Linked DNA regions of Homo sapiens: all the other regions are linked to region 2. Evidence: promoter capture Hi-C in 16 types of primary human blood cells and fetal thymus (Javierre and others, 2016). All regions are on one chromosome and are shown on one strand. Each heading gives the region's core, a stretch centred on a gene start or on the middle of the fragment in contact. The rest is flanking DNA. Distances are from core to core; before and after follow the strand shown. Region 1 holds the start of FGFBP3 (fibroblast growth factor binding protein 3). Region 2 holds the start of CPEB3 (cytoplasmic polyadenylation element binding protein 3). Region 3 overlaps IDE (insulin degrading enzyme).

Region 1 (4,502 bases), core at 738-3,237, 380 kb before region 2:
ACCGCACTCCAGCCTGGGCAAGCCAGACCCTGTCAGGGAAAAAAAAAAAAAAAGGTAGCTCTTCTAAAAGAATGGAAAGGAAATCATTCTGCAAAACTTTCCTTGGAGCCAGTTTTGACCTGTGAGGCTTCTGTCCCTATAGAGGTTATCTATGACACCCACCACGCCGCATCCAAGTTTATACCAATTCAGAAACGGAAAAAAAGTCTGCAGTCTTGTTAGCTGATTAAGTGAGAAGACATTGATTCAACCTGGCTCAGGTTGGCAATTGCTCATGGCTGCATTTAATAGAAATGTTAAACAATAAACATTGCATCCCCCTCCCCACATGGGACTCACATCACTTTAGTCACTCTATCTCCCCCTTATTCTCAGCCTCCCTCTGCATCGATTTCTCTCCCCAGTCTCCAGTTTTTGCACATTTAAAGTACGCCTATTTCTGTTTCCATTATTTTTCCTGCTCTTAATCAGGACTGAGACTTTTCAAAATTTTTAACTTCTCTGCTATCCCAGAGATTCTCCATACCCCTTACACTCTCATCCCAAGCATCTCACCCTTACCCTTGCCCCCACCCCCATTCGAGAACCTGGACTTCTCCCCAATCTCTATCACAGTACCCCCCGGTCTAAGACGCCCTTAGCTTTCCCTTCCCCACGCCTCCCCCATCAACCCTCCCTAAGCCGGCAGGCAGTCTCAGCCGTTCCAGAAATTGACAAAGAAGTTGCAGAGGGAGTGCCACTTCTCAGCGCAGTAGGTCTCCGTGAGCTCCGCGTTCCCGTCCAGCCCGTCGGGGTCGGGCCCGGTCCCCATGGGTCGCTCCTCGTTGGGGACCAAGGCCGCCTTCCTCTTGCCCTCGTTGGTCTTCCTCTCTGAGGGGTTTTCTTTGGGCGGTGCGCTTTGGGGAGGCGGGGTCCCAGCGGCTGGGCCGGACGCACGCTCCCGGGTCCGCCCCCGGTTCCGGGCCCGGGGCTTGGACTCCCCCGCGAATCCCGCGACGGTGGGGCGTGCGGGCGGGGACGCGCGGGGCACTAGCCGCAGCTCGGCGCCGTGGCCCTTCTTGCCCGCGCACAAGCGGGCCTGGAGCGGCGCGGGGTCGTGACAGGGCCTCCGCTTCTTGCGCAGCCCTCCCAGCACCTGCTTCCAGAAGTGCGCGCGGCGAGCGGCGTAGGCTGCGCAGCGCTCCGGATGCCCGCGGTAGGCGCACTGGTGGCGCGCCCCGTCCGGGCTCTGGCAGCGCAGCGCCAGCTCGCTGCCCGCTGCGGCCTCCGGGGCGGGCAGCAGGAGCTGCCAGCTGCACGCGTGCTGCTCGGGGCTGAGGAAGCGACCCGAGGAGCCGCCAGTGGGCCCGGGGACCGGCTCCGCCACGTTGCTAGCCGCCCCTTTCTCCCTCCGAGCAGCCGCGAGGAGGCAACCACTCAGCAGCAGCAGCAGCGACGGCGACAGCGACGCTCGCAGCTTCGGAGGAGTCATGCTCCGCGGTTTCCGCGCTCCGCTGTTCTCAGACCACGTTTGTCGGGGCTGGACCAGGCAAAGAGCATTCCCCAGGACCTGCGGACAGAGGCAGAGACTGCCACCAACTGAGCCACACGCAGCGCTTCGCCCAGACACATGCACCTGCGAACTACTCTTCCGCAGACTTTCTAGAATCTGCAGCCTGCGAGGAGACCCTCTGAGGAGCTTTCCTGGGGAAACTGCTTACTGTCTAAATAATCACTTTCGAACCATGTATGCATTGAGATTTTCTTCCCCTTGCAAATACGATAGCAAAACGATGCGTGATAATTGCCCCCTCTACCCCTTCCTTCATTTTCTCCCTTCTCCAACCTGCAATAAACTATCTACAAAATCATTTCAGATGATTCCTTGGAAACATGCACTTTACTACACTTTGAACTTACCGAGTTCTGGGAGAGGCGCCAAAGCCTTATTAGGGTAGAGGGAACGACTGCACGGGGGAGTAGTCTGTTTTAGCCGGCTCCCTGTGAATGAACGTGGTATCAATGGAACAGAAGAGGCCTACCCTTCTTCGCCCCTCCCCGATTTCTCTCACACTGGGAGACTTATCACCGCCGCGCTTCTCTCTCTCTCTCCCTCTCTCTCTCTGTCTCTCCAGATGGATGATGGAAGCGGTCCTGTAGTATGAAATACAAATCTTGTATTTTGCTTCCAATGTTTAAAATAATCAGGCAAAATTAACCAAGTTTTTCTTCTTTCATGTACTTAACCATCCAAAAAATAAAAATTAAACAAAAGATCTAAGTTTTAAAAGTTAAATAAAATGAAACAAAACAAACTTCAGTATTCTAAACTAGGCATTTTTTACACAATTATATCATTTACATTCTATTTCTCATATTCTGAGTTCTACATTTTTACCTATTATTTCCAATAGCCTTTCTTAAGACTCTCAATCTTAATAATTGTTACTACTAATAAAAATATAATATCCTAGTTTATTAACATACAATAGTGCCCAGCAGTTCACCCAGGAGTGGACATTTGGGCTTTTTATTATTTTTAGGTATTAGAAATCAGTTATAAGGGTCCTCCAAAAATTAGAAGTTTAAAAAAATTATTTGTATTATAGTAGTTGAACGGTAAGATTACCAATTGAAATGGTATAATAGTTAAGAATGTGAGACCAGCCTGGCCTGGTGAAATCCCGTCTCTACTAAAAATACAAAAATTAGCCAGGCGTGGTGGCAGATGCCTGTAATCCCAGCTACTCAGGAGGCTGAGGCAGGAGAATCACTTGAACCCGGGACAGGGCGAGACTGCCTCTCAAAAAAAAAAAAAAAGAGAGAGAGAATGAATGTGTTCTTGAATCTTGAAAATGTTACATTTAAGCAAAGCTGCTTTTTCTGGAGGGGGGGATTGTGTGTGTGTGCGGGGGTTTGTTTGTTTGTTTGTTTGTTTGTTTGTTTTGAGACGGGAGCTCACTCTGTCACCCAGGCTGGAGCGCAGTGGTGCTATCTCGGCTCACTGCAACCTCTGCCTTCCCGGTTCAAGCGATTCACCTGCCTCAGCCTCCCCAGTAGCTGGAATTACAGGTGCCTGCCACAACACCCAGCTAATTTTTAGTGGAGAAGGGGTTTCACCATGTTGCCCAGTCTGGTATCGAACTCCTGACCTGAGATGAGCCACCTGCCTCAGCCTCTCAAAGTGCTGACCAAGCAAAGCTGTTTTTTCTTTCTTTTTTTTTTTTTTTGCTCTTTTTAAAATTTTTATTTAGAAGCCTACTTGTAGAAGTTAGCATAATTTTACAGATTATTAGAAAAATTCAATTATTTTCTCTCTGCAAACAGTTATAATAGGTTAGGAATAATAGATTAGAAATGTACTACATTGCAAAAACAGTGGCCTATAACTATCTGTACATTTACTGTGCACCTTAAGGAAAAGAATTTGACAGTGTGCTATACTTACACTGCAGGTAACATATTTTTATTCTATCACACAAAACTGACCAGTGGTAGTGCTTGAATTTATAAATGGCCATTAAACAGAATATTTAAACTGAGATGTATATTTAGCATGCTAAAAAGTGAAAAAAATTTCAACTGAAGTTCTGTGGCTCATCAGTTCAAATGTTTCATGGCATTTTTTTCTTTAAACGAAAAATTTTGATATTGTAAAACAAATAATTTTACATAATAAATGCAAAAGTATAAAATTTTCTAAATTTTTAGAAAGAATATTTCCATTCATTTTGTCATGGGTTTTGTGTGGCTCCTCTTAATATATTAATGATATTAATAAGACACTGGTCCTATACCACTTTCAGAGTCCATCTTCAATTAAAAACTGTAACAAAAATAAACAGTATGTAGAGTAACACAAAGTAAATTAAATATACTAAACTCACACAACAGGTAGAATAAAATGAAACCAAATTACATAATGGCAGGTTATACATTTTAAAGACTCTCTTTCCACTTAGTCAAATAAGAAAGACATTGAAATGTTAACTTACTGATTTCTGTGGGGTTTTCCCCACTGGTTCAAATGCGAAAGTTTGATATAAATCTAATATTTTATTTCTGTACATTTAACATGATTCAGTATAATCTGCAGTCTCATGTATAGCTTGTCAATAATGCCATCATCACTGTATGTCAAACAAAAAACCTCACTGCTTACTAGAAATGCTAAACACTGGAAAAAATGGAATTTTATACATTTGTTTTCTTAAATTTTGACAGATGTTCTTCAAAAAATTAAAACTGCCTTCCACAAAATTTTGTGTGTATATGGCACAAGTTGACAGCCAAAAAGTGTGAATTCCATCAAAAAGGCACTGTTAACAATACTCAGAATAATCTGACAAGGTCTACATCAATGTCTGAGTAAAGAATAGGTAAATAGACAAACCCTTATAAAAGACAGCATTATTGTTTAAATATACTATAGCTATATAAAAAGAAATAAAGTGACACACAGAAATGACCCTTAGCAAAGCTGTTTTAAAACTTCAGAATATTCCATCATCTTTTAAAAATGT
Region 2 (5,073 bases), core at 710-3,209:
TGTAATCCCAGCTACTCCGGAGGCTGAGGCACGATAATCACCTGAACCCGGAGGAGGAGACTGCAGTGAGCCAAGATAGTGCCACTGCACTCCATCCTGAGCAACACAGCGAGACTCCGTCTCAAAAAAATAAAATAGACCAGGCGCGGTGGCTCGCCCCTGTAATCCCAGCACTTTGGGAGGCCGAGACGGGCTGATCGCCTGAGGTCAGAAGTTCGAGACCAGCCTGGTCAACATATAGTGAAACCCCATCTCTACTAAAAAACACAAAAATTAGCTGGGTGTGGTGGCACACACCTGTAGTCCCAGCTACTTGGGAAGCTGAGGCTAGAAGGATCACTTGAAGTCAGGAAGTGGAGCTTGCAGTGAGTCAAGACAGCGCCACTGCACTCCAGCCTGGGCAACAGAGCAAGACTCCATCTCTCAAAATCAATGAATTAATTAAATAAATGAATTAATTAAATAAAATATTAGACACTGGTCACATGCGGTGACTCACATCTGTAATCCCAACACTTTGGGAGACCAATGCGGGTGGCTCGCTTGAGCCCAGGAGTTGCAAGACCAGCCTGGGCAACATGGCGAGACCGCGTCTCTACCAAAAAAAAAAAAAAATATATATATATATATATATATATATGTATTATATATTATAAATGTATATATGTATTATATATTATAAATGTATTATATATTATATAATACATATATATTATATATAATACAAATATATATAAAATATTAGACACCCCGATTAAACTAAATACTCATTTTCTTTCCCTAGGAGGAGTGTGTGTGTATGTGTGTGGTGGGGGGGGGTGGGTGCTGTTTCTCAAAAACATATTTCAAAAATTGGAGGCCAAGTAAGCTTCTGGTCACATTTTTTGGGTTTGTTGTTTTTTCCCAGCAATGAACACTCTAGTTCAAATATACTTCGCAAATTTTGAACAGATAATGAAAAGTTGATTGTAAAATTCTACATATAAAAAGAGCTTTAAAAACACATTTTCATTTTTTAAAAAATCAAACACCTTGTAGCAGATATTAGACATAATCAAGGGAAAACTACCAGCGTCCTACCAATCACAGCCCTAGAGAAAACGCCACAGGTCGTCCAAAAAACGCATTCGTTTGAGCCGACAGCTCTTTCCTCCCGCCAAAGCTATCCCTCGAACGTCAGAAGCTGACCCAAGGAGTGACTGATGATTTCTCCTTTTTGATTCCCCACCCCCGCCACTCCCAATCCACCTGCTTGAAGGTGTCAACGCGACTAGAAACGGTTAACAGTGACCAGCAGCAGAGAGAGAAACAAACATCCCTGACAACCCACAGCTGAGTAAGCAAGAGCTGTTTATTCACCAACGTGTTCCATTTGGAGACTGTCGGCGAGCCCTGGAAAGCCCAGGCACATTTGAGAAGGTTCCTGGAGAGGGAGAGAATCATCTTTCCTTCCCCCAACTCCCCAGCCCCAAACACACAGAGAGACTCGGGTGGAAGCTGTCTGGTCCAGGCAGTCCCTATTTGCCCGCCCCCTCAAGAAGAACCTCACGCACCAAACCAACCGACCCCTCGCGGAGGTGGTGTAATTCCCCCAAAATGGGCTCTGCCGCAGGAGAGGCTGGCTCCAGCGCCGGGGGCTTCGGAAGGAGTTTCTGCCACCCCCACTGCCGCCACTGACCGCCCCGACGCCACGGCCGGGGCCGGGGACCCTGATAAGAAATGGCCCTTCAGCCCCCTCCCCTCACCTGGCTCGGTCCCACCTGAGGGCAAGAGCGGAGGCAAAAACAAACAGGCAGGGAGGGCTGACCTTGTTGCTACCGACAGTGGAGCGGCGCATCCTGCTGCTTCCTGGAAAGCGGCCCGAAAGACATTTTTTCCCCCTGGAGGAAGGAAACGGGAGGGCGCCGGCCAGACGGCGGCAGGCGCGGAGGCGTTGGTCCGGGCGGGCTGTGCAGCCTCTAGTGGAGACGGTCCGAAGACTACATCTCCCAGGCTGCTCTGGGCCGCCCTGCGTCGTAACCCTGGCGCGCACGGAGGCGGCGACTCTTACCTCACAAAGGTAGCTCCTCCGCCGGCAGCAACTCGGCGCCCGCGGTCCATGGACCGGAACCTCGGGCCGACGGACGGGAACCCGGGCCGCGATCGCCGCCTCCCCGCCTCAGGCTCCTCCTCCTCGCTCTCCGCCGCCTCCGCCGGACTCCCGCAGGCCCTGCACCGCCGCCGCCAGGCTAGCGGAGCTGCCCCGGGAAGCTGGGTGACGGGTTCGCGGCTGCCGCCGGACTGCGGCCTACTCCGCCGCCTCTCAGTGCTATTGTCCCTGGGCCTGGCCTTGAGCGGGTCCACTGGGGAAGGCCGTGTGCGCCGGCTCCGCGGAAGATGCCGGACCAAGCCCTACAGCAGATGCTGGACAGGTACGGGCAGCTGTGGGGGGGACCGGGAGCCGCCGACCCTCGCTCTGGCCCTGCCCGCGCCCGCCCTCGAGGCTCTTGGTGAGCAGAACCCGGCGTGCCGGGAGGAGTTCCACGGCCAGGGGGCCGTGAGAGGGGCAAAAAGTTTGGAGTCTAGACCTGGGGGAGGACAGAGCGAGCGGCCTGGGTCGTAGACTTTGGGTGAAACTTAGCTAAGGAGTGGCGTCTGGTTTCCTTGGAACCCCGTTTTGACCTGAGAGGGACTCCTGTTAATCCACAAAATTAGTTTTCCTTACCCTCTTCCCCTCCCCCTTCCCCCTCCCCAACTTGTGAAGTGTTTGTCAGCGATGTCACTGGCAAGAACCGGGTTATCTTTCAGGGGAATGACCCCCTTATAATTTTAAGTCTCTGTCTGAGAACCAATGATAAGCATTCTTTTGGAAAGCCTGATAGGCTGATTTCATTCTCCCACTTTCCCTGAACCCGCACCCCCCGTCCCCCCCGCCCCATCCCGTCCCCACCTCCGAACTGTAAGGTCAGAGTATCCGCAAGGGAGATTTAACGGTCAGACCAGAGTAGAGGTTATGGAAAACAGCCAAATGAGTCCAACGCTGAACATTTAGTGTACTTGACGATCGTTGAGTTCATTGAAGACGTTTCAGCTCGTACAGGAGTCCAGTTGCCCATTCTTGGGGGGCCCCAGTCGGTAAAACTCTTTGTGAAGTCGGGTGCACCGCCCTCTGCTGTTGAAATTCTGGTCCGTGGGTCCTACCATGAGTTTTTGGAGACTCTAGATCCACATTTCCCCCGAGCCAAGTCTTACTTCCTGGCATAGCAAGTTGTACAAGCTAATTCATGATGTTTGTGGTTGCTTACAATTCTCAATAGACACCACTTGCCACCCATTTCAGCAGGTGGTACCAACTCTTTGTACTCAGTAAAATTCCAACTGTAAGGTGTTAAATGAAGGCCCTCCCTTAATTGAGTTTATACCCAGTTAAATGCTTTTGGGCCTGCCACACCCAGAACACAAATGACCCAAGGGTACACATCCTTCCAGAGTGACAGACATTTTTTTGGAGCTTAGAATTTTGAGCCATCTCAGTTAATAGGAATTATGTCACTGATTTTTTTCAGTTGAGATAACTGGTGATTCATCCAGCCCTTGTTTCAGGTCAACATCCTGACAATTGTATTGACTGCTTTATATATATATGTGTGTGATATGTGTGTGGTTTATAAGCTCTTGGAAGCAGAAACTTACTATTGTTTATCTTGAATCCCAGAACAGAGCCTGGTACTCAGTAGGTAATCAGTAAGTATTTGTTGTATGAACTAATGCACAAACTTATTTGTCAGTTTCCCCAGTTGTCTAGGGGGTCTGATAATTTACCAGGTTTTCCTTTCATTGTAAATTGGCAAATTGTGGCAAATTAAAATATGCCCAGAGGAAACCACCTGCCACTGCCAGTTCTATTCTGTTGAGACCCTGTTCTGATGTGGGGTATTTTGTAGTTAATTTTTTTCCTTTGAGGGCCTCCTGCTTTTCATTTTTACATAGTGACTTTTTTTCTTCTTTTTTTGAGACAGGGTCTCTGTTGCCCAGACTGGAATGCAGTGGCAGTGGCAGTGGCATTGGCATGATCTCAACTCACTGCAACCCCCGCCTCCCAGGCTCAGGTGATCCTCCTACCTCAGCCTCCCTAGTAGCTGGGACCACAACACATACCACCATGCCCAGCTAATTTTTTGTATTTTTATAGAGCCAGAGTTTTGCCATGTTGCCTGTGCTGGTCTCAAACTCCTGGGCTCAAGTGATCCTCCCGCCTAGCCTCCCAAAGTGCTGGATTGTCAGGCATGAGCCATCGTGCCCAGCCTAGAAAAGTTCTTATGTCCAAAAGCTGACCTAACTTTTCATATGCTCTTTGGATATTTCCATAAAAGTAAGAAGCCAAAGAGTGAGCCTGGGCACGGTGGCTCACCCTTGTAATCCCAGCACTTTGGGAGGCCAAGGCAGGCAGATCACTAGAGCTCAGGCCTTTGAGACCAGCCTAGCCAACATGGTGAAACCCTGTCTCTACTAAAAAAAAAAAAAAAAATACAAAAATTAGGCAGGCGTAGTGGCGTGGGCCTGTAGTTCCAACTCTCGGGAGGCTGAGGCATGAGAATTGCTTGAACCTGGGAGACGGAGGTTGCAGTGAGCTGAGATCGCACCATTGTACTCCAGCCTGAGTGACAGAGTGGAACTCCATCTCAAAAAAAAAAGCTAGTGAGGCATTTAAAACTTATTAACAGAAATGCGAAGATTCTGGCTGCCATTTACTGAAGTAGGTGACTATGACACTGGCTTACTCTCATCTTTGTACTACTCTCATCTTTGTACTCTTTTGACATACCTTAAGGTAGATTTTTAACATGACTTTCAAAGACCGTTATTGTCTAGATTAGTAGTTGGCAACCTACTTCCATGTTAGAATTACCTGGGGAGCATTTCAGAATATGCATGGATGCTGGACTGTAAGACCAATAAGATCAAAAATTTCTGTAGGGTAGAGCCTGGGCATCTATATTTTAAAGCTTTTTAAATGTTTTAGATATGGCAGAAACCTACTGCCCTAAGTCCTAAGTCAGTGATATCTTTCATGATAAGAGATAGTAGGGTATA
Region 3 (5,142 bases), core at 2,501-5,000, 280 kb after region 2:
CAGCAGTGAACTCATACATCTTTATGAATGATGTTAAATGAAAGTTAAATGAAAAAAAGTAACTCAGAAAAGTTTGCAATAAAGGTCAAAAGCTATAAAACTAAAATAAACAATAAAACTAAACAATATACTGCTTAAGAAGTATTCAAATGTGATAAAACTATAAAGAAAACTAAGGAAATTGTTATCCAAATATAGAATAATACAGCCGGGCACGGTGGCCCACGCCTGTAATCCCAGCACTTTGGGAGGCTGAGGTGGGTGGATCACCTGAGGTCAGGGGTTTAAGACCAGCCTGGGCAACATGGTGAAACCCCATGTCTACTAAAAATACAAAAATTAGCCGGGCGTGGTGGCACGCGCCTGTAGTCCCAGCTACTTGGGAGGCTGAGGCAGGAGAATCGCCTGAAGCTGGGAGATGGAGGTTGCAGTGAGCCGAGATTGCGCCACTGTACTCTAGCCTGGGCAACAAGGGCAGACTCTTTCTCAAAAAAAAAAATAATAATAATAATAATAACAATACCTTTACAGGGGAGGAGCAGAGTTATAATTGGACAGGTGAGCACAGACAGGTTCAAAGTTGCTGGAAATGTTTGTTTCCTAAAGTAGATGGTACACAGGTGTTTTTTTCTTCTTTGTCCTATATACTCTGGCATGTACAATATTAAATAAGAGAGTAAAAAAATAAGAGGCAATATATAAACATCAAATAGATGTTTCACAATGTTTTTAAAAATTATTAAGTTGAGAAAAAGGAAGAGTAATTGTGTGACCTGTATAACAAGGCCTAAAAAGAATAAAGGATTTAGTCATATAAAGAAAAGACAGAAAGGGCATCTCGGAATTGGGAATGAATAGGTCATGTAAAAGGAGACAGCAAATTGGTAAGTCTGACTGGAGAAGAGTTAGGCTGAAAAGTTGGGCTAAGCCAGCCAACAGAATGCTTACATGCTGGGTCAAGAAGTTTGAACTTGATCTTGAAATAGCACAGAACCACTGGTGATATTTAGGCGAGACAACAGCTTGGGAAAAGTGGTTTATTAATCTGATGTGATGATAAGAATCAACTAGTAGGGAGACAGAAGGCTGGAAAAGTCAGTTCTAAAACCTGTTCAGGTGAGATAATCTCACTGATGTAAGATGTTACGAAGATGATCATGGCCTGAACTAGGATGGTGATGAGGGTCAAGATCACTCCAAGAAACTTTAGGAATCTTTAGGATGAAAGACTCAGGAGGATTGGGTCTTGGGAATAGGCAATGAGGGAAAAAGATTCAAAGATTTTCAAGCTAAACTGAAAACTCTCATTTTCAAGCTAAACTGAAAAAATGATAACAACATAGCAAAACTAAGGACTCTACAGAAAAAAATTGTTTTGAAAAAAGACCATTAATCAATTAAGTTATGCAGTAAATATGTACTGAGTACCTACTATGTGTCAGGCAGAGTGTGATGCCTTCCCTTCAGAAAGCAGATTGTGAGTCCTACTTTAAAAAGTTATTCCGAGCGCAGTGGCTCACGCCTGTAATCCGAGCACTTTGGGAGGCCAAGGTGGGCAGATCACCTGAAGTCAGGAGTTCAAGACCAGCCTGGCCATCATGGTGAAATCCCAGCTCTACTAAAAATACAAAAATTAGTTGTGTGTGGTGGCACACACCTGTAATCCCAGCTACTCTGGAGGCTGAGGCAGAAGAATCACTTGAACCCGGGAGGTGGAAGTTGCAGTGAGCCAAGATCGTGTCACTCTCCAGCCTGGGCAACAGAACAAGACTCAGTCTCAAAAAAAAAAAAAGTTACACTTTTAATAGGCAAAAAGAAACTAAACAGTTCTTTGAGAAGAATAAAATAATTTTGTGAGTCCCACTTTTTAAAAAAGTAATCAGTATGGTGATAAAATACTAAGTTGTTTTTCAAAATTAATTGAAAGAAACAACAAAACATAAAAGTGGAGGTGTCTAGTAAAAGGTCAGAGGTAAAGCAGTTTACTGTTTATTACTGAAAGCTCCTTGAGGACAAGATTTATGGTTATCTTTGCATTTACATAGTACTGGACACAGTGTGTGATCACTACAGAGTAGACATTCAAATAATGTCTAAACTAACAGAACAGTGAAAACAGACTGAAGACAAGCCAAATGAGAAGGCTCCAGAACCTAACATATCTATAGAGGATCTACCCCTGTGGAGGGAAAGTGCTCTAGCCTTGTCATCCTGGCTAAAAGGTAGCCTGATCCTCTGGCTACATGTTTAGGAGATATAAAATACCAACAGAAAAACAGAAAGGAAACCAGTGTTTATGAAACATATACTGGGCCTGGCACAGTGGCTCATGCCTGTAACCCCAGCACTTTGGGAGGCAGGGGGATTGCTTCAGCCCAGGAGTTTGAGACCACCCTGGGCAACATGACAAAACCCCATCTCTACCAAAAATACAAAAATTAGTTGTGGGGTGGTGGCATGAGCCTGCAGTCCCAGCTACTCAGGAGGCTGAGGTGGGAGGATCACTTGAACCCAAGAGATGAAGGCTGCAGTGAGCTGAGATCACATCACTGCACTCCAGCCTGGGCGACAGAGTGAAACCCTGTCTCGAACTTTAAAAAAAAGAAAACATACTGAACTTTTTCTCCCCTACCCTGGGGAGACTGTCCCCAACCCTAACTTCTTTTTTTTTAAGACACAGTCTCGCTCAGTCACCCAGGCTGGAGTGCAGTGGCACGATCTCAGCTCACTGCACCTCCGCCTCCTGGGTTCAAGCGATTCTCCTGCCTCAGCCTCCCGGGTTCAAGCGATTCTCCTGCCTCAGCCTCATGAGTAGCTGGGATTACAAGCGCCCACCACCACGCCCGGCTAATTTTTTTGTATTTTTAGTAGAGATGGGGTTTCACCATGTTGCCCAGGCTGGTCTTGAACTCCTGACCTCAAGTGATCCCCCCGACCTCGCCCTGTCAAAGTGTTGGGATTACAGGCATGAGCCACCCCACCTGGCCTCAACCCTAACTTTCAAGACAGGCAGAATGTGTGGATTAGGTTAAAGAAACTTCAGGGGTACCCTGTTCTTTTACACTATTAAAAGGCATTTTTCTGATTGACAGTAGTTTAAAAGCTTGAATGTTGATAGTCCCAACTGACATACCACTGTTTCCTAAGCCTATGGAACAGGGAAATGCAAAGTAGGGCTGCCTGCAAAGTGAGATGACTGATGCCCAGGTGGCTCAAGTTGTTGCCAGGGAATGGGCTATTATCTCCAGGTGCCCCAGTAGTTCAGATAATTCCACACAGTCCCAAGTTATAAAATACAGCTGAACACAGAACAAGGAGGTTACTCTGTAAATGGATTGATCTTACATAAATGCTTTAAGACCATCTCTGTCTCAAGAGGTTAGACCAGAAAATGAATGCCCAAATACCAGCAGAGGCAGTACTTGTGTTTGCAAATACATAACAGTTAAGAGCTCAGGCTCCGATGCCAGATAGACATGGGTTAAATCCCAGCTCTTCCAGCAAATAGCTGTGTGGCTATCTCTGTTAAGACATTCTTCCGACTATGTACAGTAGGGCTGATTGCATTCCTTAAGATGAGAATATGTGGTAGCTTCAGATGTTAGTGCTTTCCTTCCTAAAACTATGCCCTAATCCCTTTGGTTGGACCTGTATTTTCCTCAAAAGCCTCACTCACTGATTTTAGGGTAGAGCTTTCTAGCTGGCTCATCTCATTCATTATGCTTTGAATCTCTCAAATTTCCATCTTTGAGAAAAACATATCTTAAAACTCTGGATGGTCGACCGGACTTTATAACTACAGAGAAAATGTAATTTTAACTAGAACATACAAACCACTTAGTTATACAAAACTTAAAATTGGTGCTTTCTTTAAAAATCACAAATGCTATATGCTGGAGACAGTATGGAGACAGCTAAGCCTAGCCTATCAGTAATGAATTTAGAACAAAAGCAGACTGACACAAAAGAGGACAAAAGGAGGCATCCTGCCTGTGCTTACCACCTGATTCTCTAAGTTCAGGGGTCTTTTGCACATTATAGGAGATTTTGTGATGTAGTGGAAAACAGAGGAGAACAAGTTCCATAGAGTCTTCATTTGTATTAGCTTATCTTAGTGCCCCACTGCTACCATCCTAATACAGGCAGTAAAGACTAAGTCCCAACAGGTTTCTCTGCCTTAGGACTCTCTCCACTTCCTGACATCCTGCACACAGCCACCAAACTACTTTCCTAAACCCCCAGTTCCATCAGATAACTTTCCAGCTCAAAAACTTTAATGGCTCCCTACCTACTACGCATTGGGAAAATCCCAACTAAAATTCAAGACCCAGGCCAGCATTACCCTACTGTTATAATACAGGACTTGTGTCCTTCTAATTACCCCAAGGAAATTCTATAAAGCTTCAACCAGACTAATCGGCTCACTGCTCCCCCAACACAAACTGCCCGCATATCTAGGCTGGATTACGCCCACGCCAGCCCTCACTCCAACCTTTCTGCCATTCCTTCCAAAGCCAGCCTACCCCCCCATCTCTGGCCCCACACACTACCCATACTACCCATCTTCTGACCCTCATCAACACACCCTTGTAGCTATCTCAATTCCCGTGGCATCCCAATCCGCTCCAATCAAGTCAAAGTTCCTTGGAAGGCAGACACATACTTTACATAGAGGGTCCAGCACAGTGCCCTGCACTTAGTAGGTGCTGGCTATTACTGATTAAAACCAGCAGGGGTTCAAATAACGTTTCTAGGGAGGGCAAGATAATACTGCCTATCTTCTTCCATTCGTAGTAAAAAGTATTCAGCGTTCACTACAAGCCTGAAAACGCCTAGCGTACGCAGATCAACGGTGCAGTGGAGAGGGCACGCCGCCGGATGGCAAAAAACCTGTGTCCTAATCCTGGTTTTGCCACAATCTCGGCAGTTGCTGGGAAATCAAGCCATCTCTCGGAGCTCCGGTTGTCTCCGACGTAAAACAAGGGAGCTGCTGTAGAGGATCCCGAGGTATCTTTTGGCTCCTAAATGTCCCCCGATAGGAAACCCCACACTCGTCTTCCAAGGCGGGAGGCAGGCAAACTTTTTTCCCAGCGCGGGCATTCCACACGGTCCTGGAAACTCAGTGCCCGGAGAAAAGGGCAG

The links. The method cuts DNA at HindIII sites, captures the fragments that hold promoters and counts their contacts. A CHiCAGO score of 5 or more calls a contact.
Region 1: a contact is called between the fragment with the promoter of FGFBP3 here and the fragment with the promoter of CPEB3 in region 2, in 1 of 17 cell types (naive CD8 T cells). The highest score is 6.4, in naive CD8 T cells.
Region 3: a fragment that was not itself captured here is called in contact with the fragment with the promoter of CPEB3 in region 2 in 1 of 17 cell types (non-activated CD4 T cells); the score reaches 5.5 in non-activated CD4 T cells.

The regions. Positions count from the first base shown.
Region 1 is chr10:91,907,499-91,912,000 of GRCh38, forward strand. FGFBP3 (fibroblast growth factor binding protein 3) reads right to left here and starts at 1,988. Exons shown (of 2, transcript NM_152429.5): 1 at 1,900-1,988; 2 at 1-1,549. The coding sequence starts at 1,471. The coding sequence ends at 695. It overlaps FGFBP3-AS1 (FGFBP3 antisense RNA 1), which reads left to right and starts at 631. Exons shown (of 2, transcript NR_199602.1): 1 at 631-751; 2 at 1,399-1,850. RefSeq lists a silencer at 861-1,430 and an enhancer at 1,334-1,628. The HindIII fragment of the contact is 14,773 bases long and covers 1-4,502 here.
Region 2 is chr10:92,289,119-92,294,191 of GRCh38, forward strand. It overlaps CPEB3 (cytoplasmic polyadenylation element binding protein 3), which reads right to left and starts at 1,960. Exons shown (of 10, transcript NM_014912.5): 1 at 1,808-1,960. MARCHF5 (membrane associated ring-CH-type finger 5) reads left to right here and starts at 2,049. Exons shown (of 6, transcript NM_017824.5): 1 at 2,049-2,411. The coding sequence starts at 2,377. RefSeq lists enhancers at 1,254-1,463, 2,411-2,989 and a silencer at 2,024-2,273. The HindIII fragment of the contact is 4,117 bases long and covers 867-4,983 here.
Region 3 is chr10:92,568,328-92,573,469 of GRCh38, forward strand. The region is part of intron 1 of IDE (insulin degrading enzyme); the gene reads right to left. Among named protein-coding and RNA genes, the nearest start is that of IDE, 3.2 kb to the right of the region's middle. The HindIII fragment of the contact is 1,298 bases long and covers 3,102-4,399 here.